Regions from separate parts of the Homo sapiens genome. Here region 2 is linked to region 1. Evidence: promoter capture Hi-C in human tissues and cell types (Jung and others, 2019). All regions are on one chromosome and are shown on one strand. Each heading gives the region's core, a stretch centred on a gene start or on the middle of the fragment in contact. The rest is flanking DNA. Distances are from core to core; before and after follow the strand shown. Region 1 holds the start of MED14 (mediator complex subunit 14). Region 2 has its middle 13 kb from the start of LINC02601.

What was found. The method cuts DNA at HindIII sites, captures the fragments that hold promoters and counts their contacts. A contact is called where the count stands out against the background at its distance.
Region 2: a contact is called between a fragment that was not itself captured here and the fragment with the promoter of MED14 in region 1, in 1 of the 25 tissues and cell types used here (lymphoblastoid cells).

The regions. Positions count from the first base shown.
Region 1 is chrX:40,732,876-40,738,043 of GRCh38, reverse strand. It overlaps MED14 (mediator complex subunit 14), which reads left to right and starts at 2,502. Exons shown (of 31, transcript NM_004229.4): 1 at 2,502-2,846. The coding sequence starts at 2,632. MED14OS (MED14 opposite strand) reads right to left here and starts at 2,354. Exons shown (of 2, transcript NR_169211.1): 1 at 2,254-2,354. RefSeq lists enhancers at 1,290-2,210, 2,211-3,132 and silencers at 2,165-2,254, 2,515-2,894. The HindIII fragment of the contact is 8,620 bases long and covers 1-5,168 here.
Region 2 is chrX:41,260,307-41,265,474 of GRCh38, reverse strand. No RefSeq gene overlaps it. Among named protein-coding and RNA genes, the nearest start is that of LINC02601, 13 kb to the left of the region's middle. The HindIII fragment of the contact is 8,576 bases long and covers 1-5,168 here.

The DNA of each region.
Region 1 (5,168 bases), core at 1,253-3,752:
CAAATTTTGTTAGAATGTCTATAATCAAAAAGATGAAAGATAACAAGTGTTGGTGAAGGTGTGGAGAAAAAGGAACCCTTGTACACTATTGATGTGAATGTAAATTTGTAGTACACCCATTTTGGAAAACAGTATGGAGGTTCCTTAAGAAACTAAAAATAGAATTACTACAGGATGCAGCAATCTTACTTCTGGGTATATATCCAAAGGAACTGAAATCAGTATGTTGAAGAGATATCTGCACTCCCATGTTCATTGCACCATTATTCATAATAGCTAAGATGCGGAATCAAAGTGTCCATCAACCAATGAATGAATTAAAAAATGTGGTATAAATATACAACAGAATACTATTCAGCCTTAAAAAAGAATGAAATTCAGGCCGGGCATGGTGGCTCATGCCTGTAATCCCAGCACTTTGGGAGGCCAAGGTGGGTGGATCACCTGAGGTCAGGAGTTTGAGACCAGCCTGGCCAACATGGCGAAACCCCATCTCTACTAAAAATATAAAAATTTAAAAAAAATTAGCTGGGCGTGGTGGCACGTGCCTGTAATCCCAGCTACTCAGGAGGCTGAGGCAGGAGAATCGCTTGAACTTGGGACGCGAGGTTGTAGTGAGCCAAGATCGCGTCACTGCATTCCAGCCTGGGCGACAGAGCGAGACTCTGTCTCAAAAAAAAAAAAAAAAAAAAAAAGTAAAGAGTAGAATGGTGGTTACCACCAGAGGCCGGGTAGGACAGTGGGTGGAGAAAGGGGAAATATTAGTCAAAGGGTACAAAGTTTCAGTTAGATAGGCGGAATAAGTTCTGGTGATCTATTGCACAGCAATGTGACTACAATTAGCAATAACCTTTTGTATCTTCCAAAGTTGCTAAAAGTGGATTTTAAATGTTCTCACCAAAAGAAGTAAGTATGTATATCATTTGATAGATGTTAATAGCCTGATTTGCTCATTCCACAATGGTTACATGTTTCAAAACATCACATTGTATGCCATAAGTATATACTATCAATTAAAAATAAAAATAATATTTAAAAATAAGGTAGCTGCCTTCCAGCAACTGTATCTGTAAGGGGTATAAATAATCCCAATGCATTTTAATAACTAGCACAATGATATTCTGTTTCAATGTGCTTTAGGACCACCAAGGGAGGGAACAAGTGAGCTTACACCTTCAGAAGCAGATGAACCGCTTTCAACAATGATAAAGAATTACCCAAGTGATGACAGTAAGAATATTCTAACCTTAGGGAACATCATGAACATCTCTTACACCAAGAGGAGATGAAACTGCAAAAAGATGTTTGAAAGGGGTCGCAGCAACGAATGCTTCTAATAGTGAATCTCTACGTTAGGGCATGTTAGAATCACCTTAGGAAAGTTCAAAAATTCCCCAAGCCCAGACCTCAAGCCAGACCAATTAAATCTGAATCTACAGGGGTGGAACCCATATATCTAAGTATTTTTTTAAAAAACAGCTCCTCAGATAATTGCAAAGTGCAGCCAAGGTTGAGAATCGCTGTTTTAAAGCAGGTACAAAAAATTAAACGTGGACTTTGATGGGGGGGACGGGAGTGTCGGTAGGCATGGATGAACTGAAAAGCCCTTCAGAATAGAGCGGTGACTGCAAGAGCAAGGACAAAAACTATATGAGAGCCCGTGGCAGGGGATTTAAGGGCCGTTTTTGTGTGGGACTGACAGGATTTGGGGGATGGTGACGACCTCAGCATACACCCGACTCTATTAAAATTGAGTTACTCTGCCAGCGGCCCTGTCTCTACCCGCAATCATATTTTCTAGCACCTTTTCCCACAGTTTGGAAAAAAAAAAAAAGGGGCGAAAACGTTCTCCCACGTAACGCGCCGTGGACGTGTATGGGAGGAGCAAAGGCCTGAGAATCACAAGCGCGCGGCCGCTCCCATTTCTTCGCGATTCCAGAACCAGAATTCACGAACATTTAGAGGAGGCCTCCCCTGGCTGTGTTTGTGCCCCACTTAGGAAGCGATGGTGGATTTCTCTGGGCAAATTGTCGCCTTTACAACGCCAGGGGGCGGAGGCGGGAGGGAGAGCGGCGAGGGTAAGGGCGGGGCAACTGCTGACGTTCCCGGTGACGACTCCGGCTCAGCCCTCACCCTGGTTTCCGGCGGCGCGCGGCTCCCTTTTCCGCTCTCCCGCGCGCTCACAGGTACCGCCTCACTCCCACGCGCCCCCCAGCGCTGCGGTGCTAGACAGCTGAGAGAACAGACACAGACCTGTCGGAAGGTCCTCTGCAGGTCCCCCTTCCGCTCTGCCGATCGACTTCCGCCTCGGGCAGTCAACATGTACGTTGCGGCTGTCTGGCGAAGCTGCTTCTGAGCGTTTGCGGAGGCGCAGCTTCCCCTCTGCGGGGCCGCCCTGCTTCCCCCCCATCCCCGCCTCCCCCCGCCCCTCGCTCCTGTCCCTGGGGTCGGCGGACTTCTCGCTACATGGGGGCGGGCTTCCGCGGTCGGCGCACGGCTTCCTGTTCTGAGGCGGCCCGGCGGTAGGCGGTGGCGACTCTGCCCGCTCCCGTTTCGGCGCGGTGACCGAGCGCCCGGGAGGCTCGAGGACCGCATCGTGTGCCGTTGCGCCAAGCCCGGTCCTGCGCCGCCATGGCCCCAGTGCAGCTGGAGAACCACCAGCTGGTCCCGCCCGGAGGCGGCGGCGGGGGCAGCGGCGGACCCCCGTCAGCCCCAGCCCCTCCTCCCCCGGGAGCCGCCGTGGCGGCGGCCGCTGCAGCTGCGGCTAGCCCGGGCTACCGGCTGAGCACCCTCATTGAATTTCTGCTGCACCGGGCCTACTCGGAGCTTATGGTGTTGACGGACCTGTAAGTGCCCCGAAACCCCTGCCTGTTCCCCAGCCCCCCTTCCCGCCCAACCGGCTGAGACGTTTGCACCTCCCTCTCCCCGAGAGGCTGCTGTGTTCTCCGCTGGACTGCTTAGTCTAGAATTTTTGAACTCCTGGGGTTCAGCAGAGGTGGAGAAGAAGCTTTGTATCTGGGGTCTTCCTGGCAACGATGCAACAGAGACTTGTTAATTTTGCGTGTTGTTACACTTCCACTGAAAATTGTGTGAAATTTTTGTCCGAGTTCCCAACAGAACTCTCTTGATTTCTTGGCTGGAATACATAATATTCGAGCTTTTAGAAAAAACTCTATAGATGGGAAATTTGTATTACAGCCTCTTGACGATACGTTTTAAATGTAAGCTGTTATTGCTTCTAAGTTAATGCAGGAGCTACATACGTTGTGTATAAAATACAAATTTGAATTCAAAGTACTTTTTTTCTGGAACTTTTGAGTGTTTGAGGTCTTAATGAAGTTAGTGTGAGTAAAATTTTTTTGTAAGTAGTCTGTTATTTCTTGGAGTATGAAGGGGGTTTATAAATCACCTAGTTACCCATGAAATGCCTTGGGGCATGATTAAGTTGTTAATCCCTTCAGAATAGGATCAGAATATACTAACGAATTTCAGTGTGTGAAGAAAAGGCACCGTAACATTTTGGGACTCTGTTGTACATCTTATAACCCAGGTTCAGAAAAAGTTAATCAGAATTTTATTTTTTATCTATTGCAAGACTTCAGATCAGGGTTATCAATTGAGATACATTAGTATGCAGATATTAGGCTCTAAAGCGTCACAGTAATTTGTTTTTAGAGACTGATAACAGATACTTGTTTGCAGATGACTGAAAGAGTAGGCTCTACTTAACTCCTGTAAAACGTCATTCTCAGTTTTGATGTATTGTACTTTTTTGAATGGGACAGAAAAAAGTAGTGTTAAAGAAGCCTACCCATGGCTAATGAGAAATTTAAATCGCTGTCAGGTTTAGGGACTATTATAATGATATACCTCTCTGCACCATTTATTGTTGGATTTCATAAAAATCCAAGAATATCCATGAGAAAGTTTCATGTATGTGCCTATATAGAGCTGTGGGAAAAAAAATGTTGAAAACTGCTGCTATCGGTGGTGTAATTTGCTTTTCCATAGGGGATTTGTAGAAATTCCTTGAATTGTGGTTGTCTTTTTACTATTTTAGGACTTGGCTTATGAAGAGAGGAACATCTGTTTTATTGCCGTAGAATAAGTATGTAGTTATAGTCCCACACCCTTTATGTGATGGTTCCCATATTTGTATCTCCAGCACAGACCTCTCTGATGAACTCCAGACTCTATATCCAGATGCCTACATTTCAGTATCTTGATGGGCATTTCAACATAGCAACTCCAGCACCAAACTCCTGATTCCACTGTCCTCCCTCCTGCAGAACCTTCTTTGCTATCTCACTAGTCTCTCCATTCTTCCTGTTGTTGCTCAGGCCAAATATTTTGGAATAACTCCTGGCTCCTCTCTCTTCACATCCTACATACATCAGCAAGTCCTGTTATCTTTGACTTCAGAGTCTGACCATTTCTCAACACTTCCACCAAGTGCTGGTCCAAGCCACCTAATCCTTCACCTGTGTACTGCAATAGTCAGTTCACTGGTATCTCTGTAGTTCCCTTGCCCCTTCTATAGTTTCTTCTCCACAAAATAGCCAGGATGATTCTTTTAAAATTTCTCTGCTTAGAACCCTTCGATGGTTCCCCATCTCACTGAGATTAAAAAGTGTTGATAATTGCCAGGTGTGGTGGCTTATACCTGTAATCCCAGCACTTTGGGAGGCTGAGGCAGGGGAGGGGGTCACTTGAGCCCAGGAGTTCGAGACTCTGTCTCTACCAAAAATAGAAAATTAGCTGGGTGTGGTGGCCCAAGCCTGTAGTTCCAGCTACTTGGAAGGTGGAGGTGGGAGGATTGCTTGGGCCCAGGAGGTTCGCTTGAGCCCAGGAGGTTGAGGCTGCAGTGAGCATGTTCGCACCACTGCACTCCAGACTGGGTGACAGTGAGATCCTATCTCAAAAAAAAAAAAAAAAATATTGATAATCATCTGTATAGTGACCATAAAATTTATAGTCCAAACCGGGACACTTTTGAGCATAATGGGGCTGATGATAATAATGTCAGAACAAGAGGCATAAACCAGGACTGTCTTGGGCAAACCAGAAAACCAGAACATGTGGTCATCTTACCTTTAAGGCCTTACATGATGTGCCTTCTCTGTTCCTTAACCTTTTTTTTTTCTCCAACCTCTTAACCACTTTTGGTT
Region 2 (5,168 bases), core at 1,453-3,952, 530 kb before region 1:
TGCACCACCATGCCTGGTTAATTTTTTGTATTTAGTAGAGACGGGGTTTCACCATGTTGGTCAGATGGGTCTCAAACTCCTGACCTCAGGTGATCCACCCATCTCGTCCTCCCAGAGTGCTGGGATTACAGGCATGAGCTACTGCGCCCGGCTTCTCTATTTGTTTTCTAGCAAGCCAAAGTCTGAGTGGAAAAAACACAAACTGTCTTTTCTCTGGTCTCACACAACAATCAACACAGAAGACTTCCGTGACCCCAAAATATGTGGGGATTTCTCCCCACCAGCAATCAAGCAATCAGTTCTGCAGTGGACACCAACTGGGTGTCCTCCAATTCTATTCAATTCAATTCTGACACTCTCTACCTGGAGATAGCTTCAGATCCCACAGGTTGATGGCTCAGTCCCCAAGACTGCCCCCACCTTCAGATACCAATGGCAAGCCCCAGGTTGTGTCACCTGTGCTTCTGACCGACAAGCTATACATCGGGGTTCCCACCACCCCTTCCTTTGGTTCATTTAATTTGCTAGAGGGGGCCGGGCGCGGTGGCTCACACCTGTAATCCCAGCACTTTGGGGGGCCAAGGCGGGCAGATCACGAGGTCAGGAGATCGAGACCATCCTGGCCAACACGGTGAAACCCCGTCTCTACTAAAAATACAAAAAAATTAGCCGGGCGTGGTGGCAGGCACCTGTAGTCCCAGCTACTCCGGAGGCTGAAGCAGGAGAATAGCATGAACCCAGGAGGCGGAGCTTGCAGTGAGATGAGATTGCACCACTGCACTCCAGCCTGGGCGACACTCCGTCTCAAAAAAAAAAAAAAACTTGCTAGAGGGGCTCCCAGAACTCAGGGAAACACATTTACCAGTTTATTATCAAGGATATTACAAAGGATACAGATGAAGAGATACATAGGGCAAGGTATGGGGGAAGGGGTGCGGAGCTTCCATGCCCCCTCCAGGTGTACCACCCTCCAGGAACCTCCACGCGTGCAGATATTCAGAAGCTCCCAGAACTCAGTCATTTTGGGGTGTTTTGTTTTGCTTTGTTTTTTGAGATGCAGTTTCGCTTTTGTAGCCCAGGCTAGAGTGCAATGGCATGATCTCAGCTCACCGCAACCTCTGCCTCCCGGGTTCAAGCCATTCTCCTGCCTCAGCCCCCCAAGTAGCTGGAATTACAGGGATGCACCACAGGGATGCACCACCACGCCCAGCTAATTTTGTATTTTTAGTAGAGATGGGGTTTATCCATGTTGGTCAGGCTGGTCTTGAACTCCTGACCTCAGGTGATCCACCTGCCTCGGCCTCCCAAAGTGCTGGGATTACAGGCGTGAGCCACCATACCTGGCCAAGGCCCATTTTTATAAGTAGTGCACGATGTTCCAGCCAACATTGTAATGGCACATTGGGCTTGGATGTTGTGATGTTATGATATATTTATATTGGTTTTTGTTCACACTTCCTGGTTGATAAGTGCCATAGCCCTTGTTATTTCCTAAGTGACTAAAACAATAGGTATATATTTTAAAAGCATTTGGGCTGGGCGCAGTGGCTCATGCCTATAATACCAGCACTTTGGGAGGCCAAGGCGGGCAGATCACTTGAGGTCAGGAGTTCAAGACCAGCCTAGCCAACATGGTGAAACCCCGTCTCTATTAAAAATACAAAAAAAATAGCCAGATATGGTGGTAGGCGCCTGTAATGCCAGCTACTCTGGAGGCTGAGGCACGAGAATTGCTTGAACCCGGGAGGCAGAGGTTACAGTGAGCCAAGATCACACCACTGCACTCCAGCCTGGGAGACAGAGTGAGACTTCATCTTAAAAGAAATAAAAAATAAAAAATAAATAAATACATAAATAAATAACATTTGGCCTTTTGTCCTTAGTTCCTGAAGCAGCTTCAGAACAGCCTTCAGAGCCATAAAGGTGAAAGACATTCTCTTGTCATAACATTGGGGTGCTTTAGGCCTCAGAAAACAGAATCTCTCTCTCTCTGAGCTTCTCCTGCCCTCCTTTCACCTGCTCCTTTTTCTCTCCAAGGCAGCCTGTATATCTTAGTTCTTTTGCATTGCCGTAAAGGGATTCCTGAAGCTGGGTAGTTTATAAAGAAAAGAGGTTTATTTGGCTCACGGTTCTGTAGGCTATGCAAGAAGCATGGCTCCAGTATCTGCTTCTGGTGAGGCCTCAGGAAGCTTCTAATCGTGGCGGAAGGGGAAGGGGATATGGCATGTGCAGATCACATGGAGAGACAGGAAGCAAGAGAGAGAGAGCACTCATTACAGCGAGGACAACACCAAGCCATTCACGAGGGATCCACCCCCATGACCCAAACACCTCCCACCAGGCCCCACCTCCAATACTGGGGGCCACATTTCCACGTGAAATTTGGAGGGATTAAGTATCCAAACCATAGTACCTTAGAAACTAAAATATACTCTAATATTCTCCTGCCTTGAGCCAAATAAACCTCTTTTCTTTATAAATTACCTGTCTTGGAGCTGGCTATAAAGAAATTCTCTGGCCAGGTGAGGTGGCTCACCCCTGTAATCCCAGCACTTTGGGAGGCCGAGGTGGGTGGATCACAAGGTCAGGAGATTGAGACCATCCTGGCCAACATGGTGAAACCCCGTCCCTACTAAAATACAAAAAATTAGCTGGGCGTGGTGGTGCACACCTGTAGTCCCAGCTACTCAGGAGGCTGAGGCAGGGGAATTGCTTGAACTCAGGAGGCGGAGATTGCAGTGAGCCGAGATCGCACCACGGCTCTCCAGCCTGGTGACAGAGCAAGATTCTGTCTCAAAAAAGAAAAAAAAAAGAAATTATCTGGCCTATCTTGTGTGATTGTAGGTGTAAAAGTTGATCATACTTCAGCTGGGTGTGGTAGCTCATGCTTGTAATCCCAGCACTTTGAGAGGCTGAGGGATCACTCAAGGCCAGGAATTTGAGACCAGCCTGGGCAACAAGGTGAAACCCCACCTCTATAAAAAATACAAAAAAATAGCTGGGCATGGTGGCATGTGCCTGTAGTCCTAGATACTTGGGAGGCCAAGAATTGCTTGAGCTCAGGAGGTGGAGGCTGCAGTGAGCCATGATTGCACCACTGTCTTCCAGCCTGGGTAATAGAGCAAGACACACAGAAAGGGAAGGGAGGGGAGGGGAGGGGAGGGAAGGGAAGGGAAAAGGAAGGGGAAGGGAGCGGAGGGGAAGGGAAGGGAAGGGAAGGGAAAAGGAAGGGAAAGGAAAGGGAAAGGGAAAGGAAAGGAGAAAGGAAAGGAGAAAGGAAAGGAAAGGAGAAAGGAAAGGAAAGGAGAAAGGAAAGGAGTAAGGAAAGGAAAGGAGAAAGGAAAGGAAGGAAAAAGAGAGAAAGAAAAGAAAGGAAGGAAGAAAGAAAGAGAGAAAGAAAGAAAAGAAAAGAAAAGAAAGGAGAGAAGAAAAGATCATACGAATTGGGTCATTCTTGACATACCCAACTGAAACAGAGTCAGGAGGTCAGGGGGAAGCAGGCAGGGCACATAACATTGCTCCAAAAATGTAATTCTCTGCAAGCCTGGCTGCTGAAACTGCCTGCTATGACCTGAAACCAGTTTTTTGTTTTGTTTTTTGTTTCGTTTTGTTTTGAGATGGAGTTTCACTTTGTCGCCCAGGCTGGAGTGCAGTGGCCTGATCTCGGCTCACTGCAATCCCCACCTCCTGGGTTCAAGCTATTCTCCTGCCTCAGACTCCCGAGTAGCTGGGATTACAGGTGCCTGCCACCACGGCTGGCTAATTTTTGTACTTTTAGTAGTGACAGGGTTTCACCATGTTGGCCAGGATGGTCTCGAACCCCTGACCTTAAGTGATTCGCCCACCTCAGCCTCCCAAAGTGCTGAGATTACAGGTGTAAGCCACCATGCCTGGCCTTGAAACCAGTTTTATCTCATGGCTTCTGAAGCAAACTGCTGCAACTCTAAGACTAGTTCTACCCACTGCCAACACTCTCCAATCAGAGCTTGCTTGCCAGCTCTCTGAAACCTTACTAGTGCCAATGAGCTTCCTCAAAGAGCAATATGAAACATTTCCCCTTTCTATAAAACCTCTAACCTTCTCTTTGTTCTTCAGACATACCGAAGACCGGACAGTCTGCATATATGCTCTGAATTGCAATTCTTTCTTCCCAAATAAAACGTTTTAATTTCAGATTTATCTGTATATTTTATTTGACTTCAGCATAGGTTATAAGACCTCCATTTCAGAAGAGATCCCGCCCCATATCCGGGAGGAGGGAATGCCACACAGAGAGGCCAAGAAGAATCTGAACAGACAGGCCTTGCTAGGCTTAGATCATATCCTTTTTGTCCAATCACATTTCTTTTTTTTTTTTTTTTTTTTTGAGACGGAGTCTCGCTCTGTCGCCCAGGCTGGAGTGCAATGGAGTGATCTCAGCTCACGGCAAACTCCGCCTCCTGGGTTCAAGTGATTCTCCTGCCTCAGCCTCCCGAGTAGCTAGGATTACAGGCACACGCCACTAAGCCCGACTAATTTTGTATTTTTAGTAGAGACAGGGTTTCACCATGTTGACCAGGCTGGTCTTGAATCCCTGACCTCGGGTGATCCACCCGCTTCAGCCTCCCAAAGTGCTAGGATTACAGGCGTGAGCCACCATGCCCGGCCCAATCACATTTCTAAATGGATGTCCATGCTTCATGCCTATCCAATGAAGTCTCCATAAAAGGCCAAGAAGATGGGGCATGGGGAGGTTCCAGAGGGATGAAAACATGGCGCCTTGTAGGAAGGTGAACAAGAACTCATCCGCAGCTGAGCACAGTGGCTCATGCTTATAATCCCAGCACTTTGGGAGGCTAAGGTGGGAGGATTGCTTGAGCCAAGGAGTTCGAGACCAGCCTGGGCAACATAGGGAGACCTTGTCTCTACAAAAAATACAAAAATTCGTCGGTAATGGTGGTGTTAGCTTGTAGTCCCAGCTACTTGGGAGGCTGAGGTGGGAGGATTTGCTTGAGTCCAGGAGGTTGAAGCTGCAGTGAACCATGATCGTGTGCTAGATACAGTTCAGTGGCATTAAAAATGTACTTAACGCCACTGAACTGTATACATAAAAATGGTTACAATGGCAAATTTTATGTATATTTTATCACAAGAAAATCTTTTTAAGGCCGGGCATGGTGGCTCACACC